Regions from separate parts of the Homo sapiens genome. Here all the other regions are linked to region 3. The links are contacts of gene promoters, found by promoter capture Hi-C in blood cells and fetal thymus (Javierre and others, 2016). All regions are on one chromosome and are shown on one strand. The core of a region is centred on a gene start or on the middle of the fragment in contact, and the rest is flanking DNA. Distances in the headings are between cores, read along the strand shown.

Region 1 (2,941 bases), core at 375-2,874, 320 kb after region 3:
TCGTAAAGCAACCTTTTTTGATCACCTGCTCCACCCTAACTCATTCCGACCACCTGCTCCACCCTAACTCATTCCGACCACCTGCTCCACCCTAACTCATTCCTATCACCTGCTCCACCCTAACTCATTCCGACCACCTGCTCCACCCTAACTCATTCCGACCACCTGCTCCACCCTAACTCATTCCGATCACCTGCTCCACCCTAACTCATTCCTATCACCTGCTCCACCCTAACTCATTCCGATCACCTGCTCCACCCTAACTCATTCCGACCACCTGCTCCACCCTAACTCATTCCGACCACCTGCTCCACCCTAACTCATTCCGACCACCTGCTCCACCCTAACTCATTCCTATCACCTGCTCCACCCTAACTCATTCCGACCACCTGCTCCACCCTAACTCATTCCGACCACCTGCTCCACCCTAACTCATTCCGACCACCTGCTCCACCCTAACTCATTCCGACCACCTGCTCCACCCTAACTCATTCCGACCACCTGCTCCACCCTAACTCATTCCGACCACCTGCTCCACCCTAACTCATTCCGACCACCTGATCCACCCTAACTCATTCCAATCACCTGCTCCACCCTAACTCATTCCGACCACCTGCTCCACCCTAACTCATTCCGATCACCTGCTCCACCCTAACTCATTCCTATCACCTGCTCCACCCTAACTCATTCCGACCACCTGCTCCACCCTAACTCATTCCTATCACCTGCTCCACCCTAACTCATTCCGACCACCTGCTCCACCCTAACTCATTCCGACCACCTGCTCCACCCTAACTCATTCCGATCACCTGCTCCACCCTAACTCATTCCGACCACCTGCTCCACCCTAACTCATTCCGACCACCTGCTCCACCCTAACTCATTCCGACCACCTGCTCCACCCTAACTCATTCCGATCACCTGCTCCACCCTCATTCCGACCACCTGCTCCACCCTAACTCATTCCGATCACCTGCTCCACCCTAACTCATTCCGACCACCTGCTCCACCCTAACTCATTCCGACCACCTGCTCCACCCTAACTCATTCCGATCACCTGCTCCACCCTCATTCCGACCACCTGCTCCACCCTTACTCATTCTGATCACCTGCTCCACCCTAACTCATTCTGATCACCTGCTATCTGCTCTCCCCTGACTCCCGCCAAAGCACTTACCCTGTCAGTCTCTTTAAATTAGCCCATTGGAAGTAGTTTAGCCTGTGCGATCTAACCCTAGCCAATGGGGGACCGACACAGCACCAGGGGCCACGTGCGTCAGGGATAAGAACCCCTTCCCCTCCTTTGTCCAAATGTGCACTCGCCATTGTTCCATCTGTAAGGGCGCACCCTTCTATATAGAAGTAACTTGCCTTGCTGAGAATTAAAAGGAACATTTTATATTCGAGTGCTATTTCTTTTGTGGCACCAAAACTTTATATATAACAATATATATAACAAAATGATAAAGGGAAAAGGCAAGTAAATTTTTATCCTCAGGTAGAAGGCATAGGACAAAATGGAAGGTTTAAGCAAGATGTAGGTTTGTGCAAGATTAATCTCATGAAAATAATTTTATGTGTGATCAGATTGACTAAAATTAGAAAATTTAAGTTTTTAAAAAACTGAGCATTAGTATGAAAAGTACACTGATGGGAGGGAGGAGTTTGAGCCTCTGTGTTAGAACAAGGTTTTCTTGGAGCATTGCTCTGCCCTTAATAGAAAACTGTGGGCCAGGTGTGGTGGCTCAGGCCTGTAATCCCAGCACTTCTGGAGGCCAAGGTGGGCGGATTGCTTGAGACCAAGAGTTCGAGATCAGCCTGGGCAATATGGTGAGTTCCTATGTCTACACAAAGTTTTTAAGAAAATTAGTCGAGCATGGTGGCACATGCCTGTAGTCCCACCTATTCAGGAGGCTAAGGTGGAGAATCGCTTGAGCCTGGGAGGTGGAGGTGGCAGTGAGCTGAGATCACACTACTGTACTCCAGCCTGGGTGGAGACCCTGTCTCAAAAAAAAAAAAAAATAGTGAAAAGTTTTTCTTTACCTTTTAGGTAGCTGGCCTAGGAAACTGATTCTATGTTTAATCAAGATAATTTCTTGTGCTTTGTATCTTTGAAATCTTCTGTCACTTTGGTTTTATTTCACAGTGATCTGTGTTCCTATCTGATCATGTAATTTTTTTTTTTTTCTTTGAGATGAAGTCTCACTCCGTCGCCAGGCTGGAGTGCAGTGGCGCGATCTCGGCTCACTGCAACCTCCAACTCCTGGGTTCAAGCAATTCTCCTGCCTCAGCCTCCCTGAGTAGCTATGTAATTTAAACCTTGGATATTTGACAAACTTTTCAAAAAACTTTTGACCGAAATTAACTTTAGGACATTCCAGAAAGCCCTGGAACTTCTAAAAGGAACTGTAAAACAAAGAGATTAAGCCAACATGGGCTTATCGAATATTTTAAATTATATGGGAAGCACTGTCAAAACATGGAATGATGTTTAGCCTTCGAGTGACAGTTATATGGATGTGTTATTAATAGATGTTCCAAAATTGTATAAAGTTCCTAGAAACCTATGTCTTCATATAAATGCTATCAGTCATAATTATGGTTCACGAATAACCAAATTTCCTTGTCAACTGCATTGCCATAGCCATTTTAAGCCTTGGTGTTCATAGCAATTGCTTTATTCCAATGCCTTTCTGAAAGTTACTTGCAAGCACTTACAATCTTCAAGTGTTATGTCTTCAGGGCAGTTCATGGAAAGAATGGAAAGAATGAAAAAAACTCTGACAAGTATATAGTTTCTAATAATTTTGAGTTCATAGCATTGGACTGAATTTCCAAAACTATAATAGCACAAAACTGATGGGCTTGTGCTAAGCAAGTTCACAGCAGGAATTAATTACATGGAGCTGGGCACGGTGGCTCATGAATGTAATGTCAGCAC
Region 2 (2,802 bases), core at 85-2,584, 330 kb before region 3:
CTCACAGGCCAGTGGGAATTCTCACAGTAAGCATTTTGTCCAGAGAATATTCTTCTTAGGGAACTATAACATTCCAATGATAATGGTAGTCAGCCATGTGGCTGGATCATCGTTCCTGTATCCTGGTCTCTATGACTTAGTGTGGTGATGGTGTCATTGTGTCCAAGTGTGACAGAATTGTTAGTGTGTAGTGTCTGTCTCCTATCTCAGGCTCACAGTCCCTTTTATAAACATGCCTGGATTGATGATGGCTTCAGTATCTTTTGGAAATCTGGACTGAGCAATAGAATTGCTTCTCTCAAATTGATTTCAAGTCATATAAAAGGCCATGTTACACATATATTGTTAATCTGAGGGAGGCTGTGATCATTTAAGTTGTATTTTATAAACACTAGGACCACCAGTAAGAAAACAATTCAAAAAATATTAAAAGAACAACCAAAGAATTAAAATAGAATAACCGAAAAGATCTGTTTAACACAAAAGAAGGCAGTTAAAGATGAACAGAGGAACCAATAAGACATATAGAAAACAGATAGGAAAATGACAGACATAAACCCAGCCATATGACAATTATATTAAATTTTTAAGAGATTAGGAAATTCCGTTGTTTTTTAAACATGAGCAACTATACGCTGTCTACAGAAGAGACACTTTAGAACAAAAGATACAAATAGTTGGAAAGTAAAAAGATGGAAAAAGCTATATCCAGCGAATCCAGAAGAGAGCAGAAGTGGCTATTCTGACATCAGAAAAAAGAGACTTTAAGATAAAGTATTGCTAGAGAGGAAGAAGGATAGTATTTAATGATAGAAGGGTTAATATGGAATATGTAACAATTACAATCATATCAGCACTAACAACAGTGCCCAAAACTACATACACTGAAATTTAACATGATTGAGGGGATCAATAGGCAATTCAACAATAAAAGCTTTTGTTCATACCCTCTTCTTAATCAGTGATAAGTCAATTAGATAGAGCATCATTGAGGTTACAACATACTTCAGCAATGTTGTCAACCAATTTGACCTGAGATAGATAGATAGACAGTTAGACAGACAGACAGACAGACAGAGAAAACTTCACCCAACAACAGAAATACAAATTATTTTCAAGCATACCTGGAACATTCTCCAGGATAGAGTATATGTTAGGCTATAAAACTGTACTCAATAAATTTAAGATTGAAACCATGTAGAGTATGTTGTGTGACCATAGAGGAATTAGAAATCAACACAGAAATAAATTTGGAGGTCACAAGATATTTGGAAATTAACACACTTTACAGAGCCCATTGGTCAAAAATATATATATTAAACTAGAAAGGCCGGGGGTGGTTGCTTACACCTGTAATTCCAGCACTTTGGGAGGCGTAGGTGGGCACATCACTTGAGGCCAGGAGTTCAAGACCAACCTGGGCAACATGGCAAAACCCCATCTCTACAAAAAAATACAAAAAATGAGTTGAGCATGGTGGTGCATGCCTGTAGTCCCAGCTACTCAGGAGGCTGAGGTAGGGGAATCACCTGAGCCCAGCAGGTAGAAGCTGCATTGAACCAAGATTGCACCACTGCATACCAGCCTGGGCGACAAAGTGAGACCCTGTCTAAAAAATAAAAGGAATCCAGAAAACATCTTGCATAGAATTTGATACAACTAAAGACATGCTTAGAGGGATATTTATAGTTTTAAATAACTGTATCAGAAAAAAAGGGAAGATAAATAAATGACATAAGCTTCCACCTTAAGAAACAAGAAAAAGACTAAACTAGAAGATGAAATCCAAAGCAAGCAGAAAGAAGTAAACAATAGGGATTGGAGCAAAAATTGATGACATAAAAAACCAGACAAAATACAGAGAAAAATCCATGAAACCAAAAGTTGGGTTTGTGCAGAGATTTGTGAAATTTACAATCCTTTAGCTAGACTGACACAGATCATTAGAATTAGGAATGATGGAGACAACATCACTACTGACCCTATAGATTGGATCAGGAATGTCGCTGTTTGCTGCATTGTGCTTTCTTGAGGGGAGAGCTATGAAGGAAAACAAAGTTCTCATTGCACTTACAACTCAACAACACAGCGTTGACATTTTGATTCTCACTGGCTTCAGTGCTCATCTCTGTGAGGTTTCCAGAAGATCCCGTAGCAATATCACTCATTCTAAATTTATCTTTGGGCTACTCTGGGAACGCTGTCTATGGGTTAGCCCTGCTCTGCAAGGAGCAGTAAGAAAATATATATATATTTTTTGAGGCTGAGTCTCGCTCTATCGCCCAGACGGGAGTGCAGTGGCACGATGTTGGCTCACTGCAACCTCCACCTCCAGGGTTCAAGCGATTCTCCTGCCTCAGCCTCCCAAGTAGCTGGGATTACAGGCACGTGCCACCACACACCGCTAATTTTTGTGTTTTTGTAGAGACAGGGTTTCACCATGTGGGCCAGGCTGGTCTCAAACTCCCAACCTCAGGTGATCTGCCCTCCTTGGCCTCCCAAAGTGCAGGGATTACAGGCATGATCCACTGTGCCTGGCAAGTATGTTTGTAGCCAGTGGGGAATTATTTTAACTAGGCAATAATTTGATCTATTTTGGGAAGCCTCTTGTAATCAAATCATATATCAACATTAATCACATGGTGAGTCCTCCATGGTTTTCATTCCTAGAGATTCTAGGATGTTTGACATTTCTCTGCTTAGCTTATAGCAGAAAGGTATTGGATATCAAGAATGTTTGAACAGTTTCTCCTTTTTGGGAATGAAGATGAAATTGGGCTAGAATGAGATGTGTGATTGAGA
Region 3 (2,700 bases), core at 11-2,510:
ATTTGGTACATTCAATTCTACCTTTACCAACAAAAGCCTTTACCACCAAGATGAGGAAAGCATCCTTTTCATTTTCTACACTGAAAAGGGGGGGGAAAAAAGGCCAACTGCTTGCATACAGGTCTGCATATAACACAGCAGTCTCTGGCAAAGCCAATAACTCACGTTCAACTTCAGAAATCCTGGTGGCCGGTAACACAGAGTAACCTGTGCGCACAACCCTTGGGCTTGACATACCACTTCATCCGCCCTCCCTTCCCATCAATCCACCCCCAAAACCCCAACCCACCAAGCACACGGCTAAATATGTCTTCCCCAAGAGAGCCAAAAACCTTGAAAACGCCGAGAAAGGGCTCCCCTTTGAAGGAAAGGGCCTGCCCTTCCCTGTCTGGGGCCCCGGCTGGCTCGAAGAGCCTGGCTCCTAGGAGGCCCAAATCTCGACGCCTCGCACGTCCCGCCCCGCCCCGGGCCCGCTCGCGTCCCCTCGGGCGACAAAACCCTCCCGCCGTCGCTCAGCCAGGACTGACAGTTACGGCTGCAGCAGCCGCGGCCACCAGGGGCCTACTTCTGGCACCAGCCCCTTCGGACCACGCGCCCCCAAACACTCGCCTCGGCGGCGGGGGGCGGGGAAGGGGGGTGTCGACCTCGCCACAGCGGGCCCCGAAGGCCGGCCGAGTGACGGAGGGGAGCCAGCGCCGCCTGGCGCAGGCCGCGGCAACACTGACCTGTCGTCGCCCCCGCGCCTGGGCTGCGGCGGCCGCCTCACTGGTCGTAGTCGCCCTCGCCCGCCGCCTCCGCCCGCCACCGCCTCGTTCTCTTTCGCTGCCGCCACCGCCGGGGCTCATGCGGGACCCGCGCTTCCTTATCCGGAAAACGAGGCCGGGAAAGGGAGCGCCGGGGCCGCCGAAATCCCGGCGTTCGTCGCCAGCCGCCGCTGCCTGTCCACACCGGGGGGCTGAGGGGCCCTCCTGCCAGGGGCTACAGGCCGCGAGCTATTCCGAGGAGGAGCCGAAGGAGGCGCCGCCGCCCGCAGCCGAGCGCGCCGGGTCGGCAGAGGTGAAGCGTAAGTAGGCGGCGGATGGCGGGCGCCCGCGCTGGCGGATGGCTACGCGGCGGAGGGGTGCGCGAGCGAGCGAAGCCTGGTGTGTCGGGTCCTGGCGAAGGGAAAAGGCCCCGTCGTCTCCTGTAGTCACCCCGAGCCCAGCGCCACCATCTTGGGAGACACACGGATCTCGCGGCCGCGGCGCAAGACGGGAGGACTGGCTGGGCGGGCCGAGTATCCCGGCAGGCAGCGCGCGCCGCCCGGCCGGGCGAGGGCTCCAGGCCGGGACGCGGGGACGTGGGGCGGGGCCAAGACGCGCGGGAGGGCGCCGCGCTCCGCCCCTCCTTCCTTCGCCGGCCCCGCCTCCCTCCCGCTTGCCGTCGCCGCCGGCGCACGGGCCATTGGGAAGAGGAGGTGGCCTGCGGCCCCTCGGAGTCCCACCAGGCTCGGTCGCCATCTTGCGACTGGACAGAAAGGGTAATCCCTCTTTTTAGTTTCTGCTGTCTGTGACCCGAAAGAATAAACCTGGGACTTCCGGAAGCCCTCTGGGCACCCCCCCCCCCAGGAGGGTTGCAGAGCCCCTTGGTGTACCCAGCAGAGGAACGCCTCAGACTTTGTTGGGAAACGAATGGCTCTGAAAGTTAGCTGAAGCCGCTGGAATAGCCCCCCAGCCCCGAGGCGGGGCAGGTGCCTGCCGTTATTGGCTTTTCGACCCCAACCCTTTTCTATCTGGAGCTGCCTTTGTAGATGTTGCAGGGGTGCCCCGAGAGTGCAGGCCAGATTTTAGAGGACCAAGGTCATCTACTTAGGCCTCTTGCCAACACAGGATGTGTCAACTAGTTTACCAGAGACGAAGGTAAAGTCCCGTCTCCTGCAGTTGTTGACGTTCAGTAGGTCGTCGGTTAAGAAAAGTGGCTCCCTGGTTGACCCCAGCTGGATAGAGGCTAATTTTGATCCATATGACAGCTGAACGTAGTTAAAGCCATTAAAATTAAATCCATTTAAAGTCATATTTGGTACCAGGGTCACCATTTTAAAAGGTGTGTGTGTGTATGTGTGTGTGTGTGTGTGTGTGTGTGTATAGCTTTACAACACTTGCTAGCAAAGCCAAAAGAGTATCACTAACAATTCATAGTGTTACAACTTGCAACTTTGTTGATAAGCCCTTGAAGTACTAGATGAGTACCCATGTCTAGTATTCAGATTTTTTATATCAACAGTCGTACATAGCAGTGTATCTTTTTTAAATTTATTTTTATTTTTAAACTTAGAAATGGTGTCTTGCTATGTTAGGCCCAGGCTGGTCTCGAGCTCCTGGCCTCAAGTGATCCTCCCACCTCGGCCTCCCAAAGTTTTGGGACTACAGGCATGAGCCACAGTGCTCGGCCAGCAGTGTAATTTTTAACTGTCAGTCTCGGAACATCTTTTTTGTATAGCCAAGTGTGTGGGTGTGTGTGTGTATCCGCCTCACAACTATAACCAACCATTGAAAAACCAACAATAAGCTAGAAGAATTTAAGTTATTCCAGGACAACTGATGATAATGATAGTATTAAGCCATATTCGATTTTAAGATGTTTTAACTCAGCTCTTTACTCACTTTTCATTTCCTCTCATTACACATCCACATTTGGAAACTATTTGCTGTTATATTTCAT

The links. The method cuts DNA at HindIII sites, captures the fragments that hold promoters and counts their contacts. A CHiCAGO score of 5 or more calls a contact.
Region 1: a contact is called between a fragment that was not itself captured here and the fragment with the promoter of UBE3A in region 3, in 1 of 17 cell types (monocytes). The highest score is 5.2, in monocytes.
Region 2: a contact is called between a fragment that was not itself captured here and the fragment with the promoter of UBE3A in region 3, in 2 of 17 cell types (megakaryocytes and endothelial precursors). The highest score is 7.8, in megakaryocytes.

Annotation. Positions count from the first base shown.
Region 1 is chr15:25,757,795-25,760,735 of GRCh38, forward strand. All of the region lies in intron 2 of ATP10A (ATPase phospholipid transporting 10A (putative)), which reads right to left. Among named protein-coding and RNA genes, the nearest start is that of MIR4715, 90 kb to the right of the region's middle. The HindIII fragment of the contact is 7,432 bases long and covers 1-2,941 here.
Region 2 is chr15:25,112,311-25,115,112 of GRCh38, forward strand. The region is part of intron 58 of SNHG14 (small nucleolar RNA host gene 14); the gene reads left to right. Among named protein-coding and RNA genes, the nearest start is that of IPW, 2.8 kb to the right of the region's middle. The HindIII fragment of the contact is 805 bases long and covers 933-1,737 here.
Region 3 is chr15:25,437,764-25,440,463 of GRCh38, forward strand. UBE3A (ubiquitin protein ligase E3A) reads right to left here and starts at 1,261. Exons shown (of 13, transcript NM_130839.5): 1 at 726-1,261. RefSeq lists enhancers at 377-1,322, 1,323-2,268 and silencers at 406-825, 1,186-1,525. The HindIII fragment of the contact is 4,364 bases long and covers 1-2,700 here.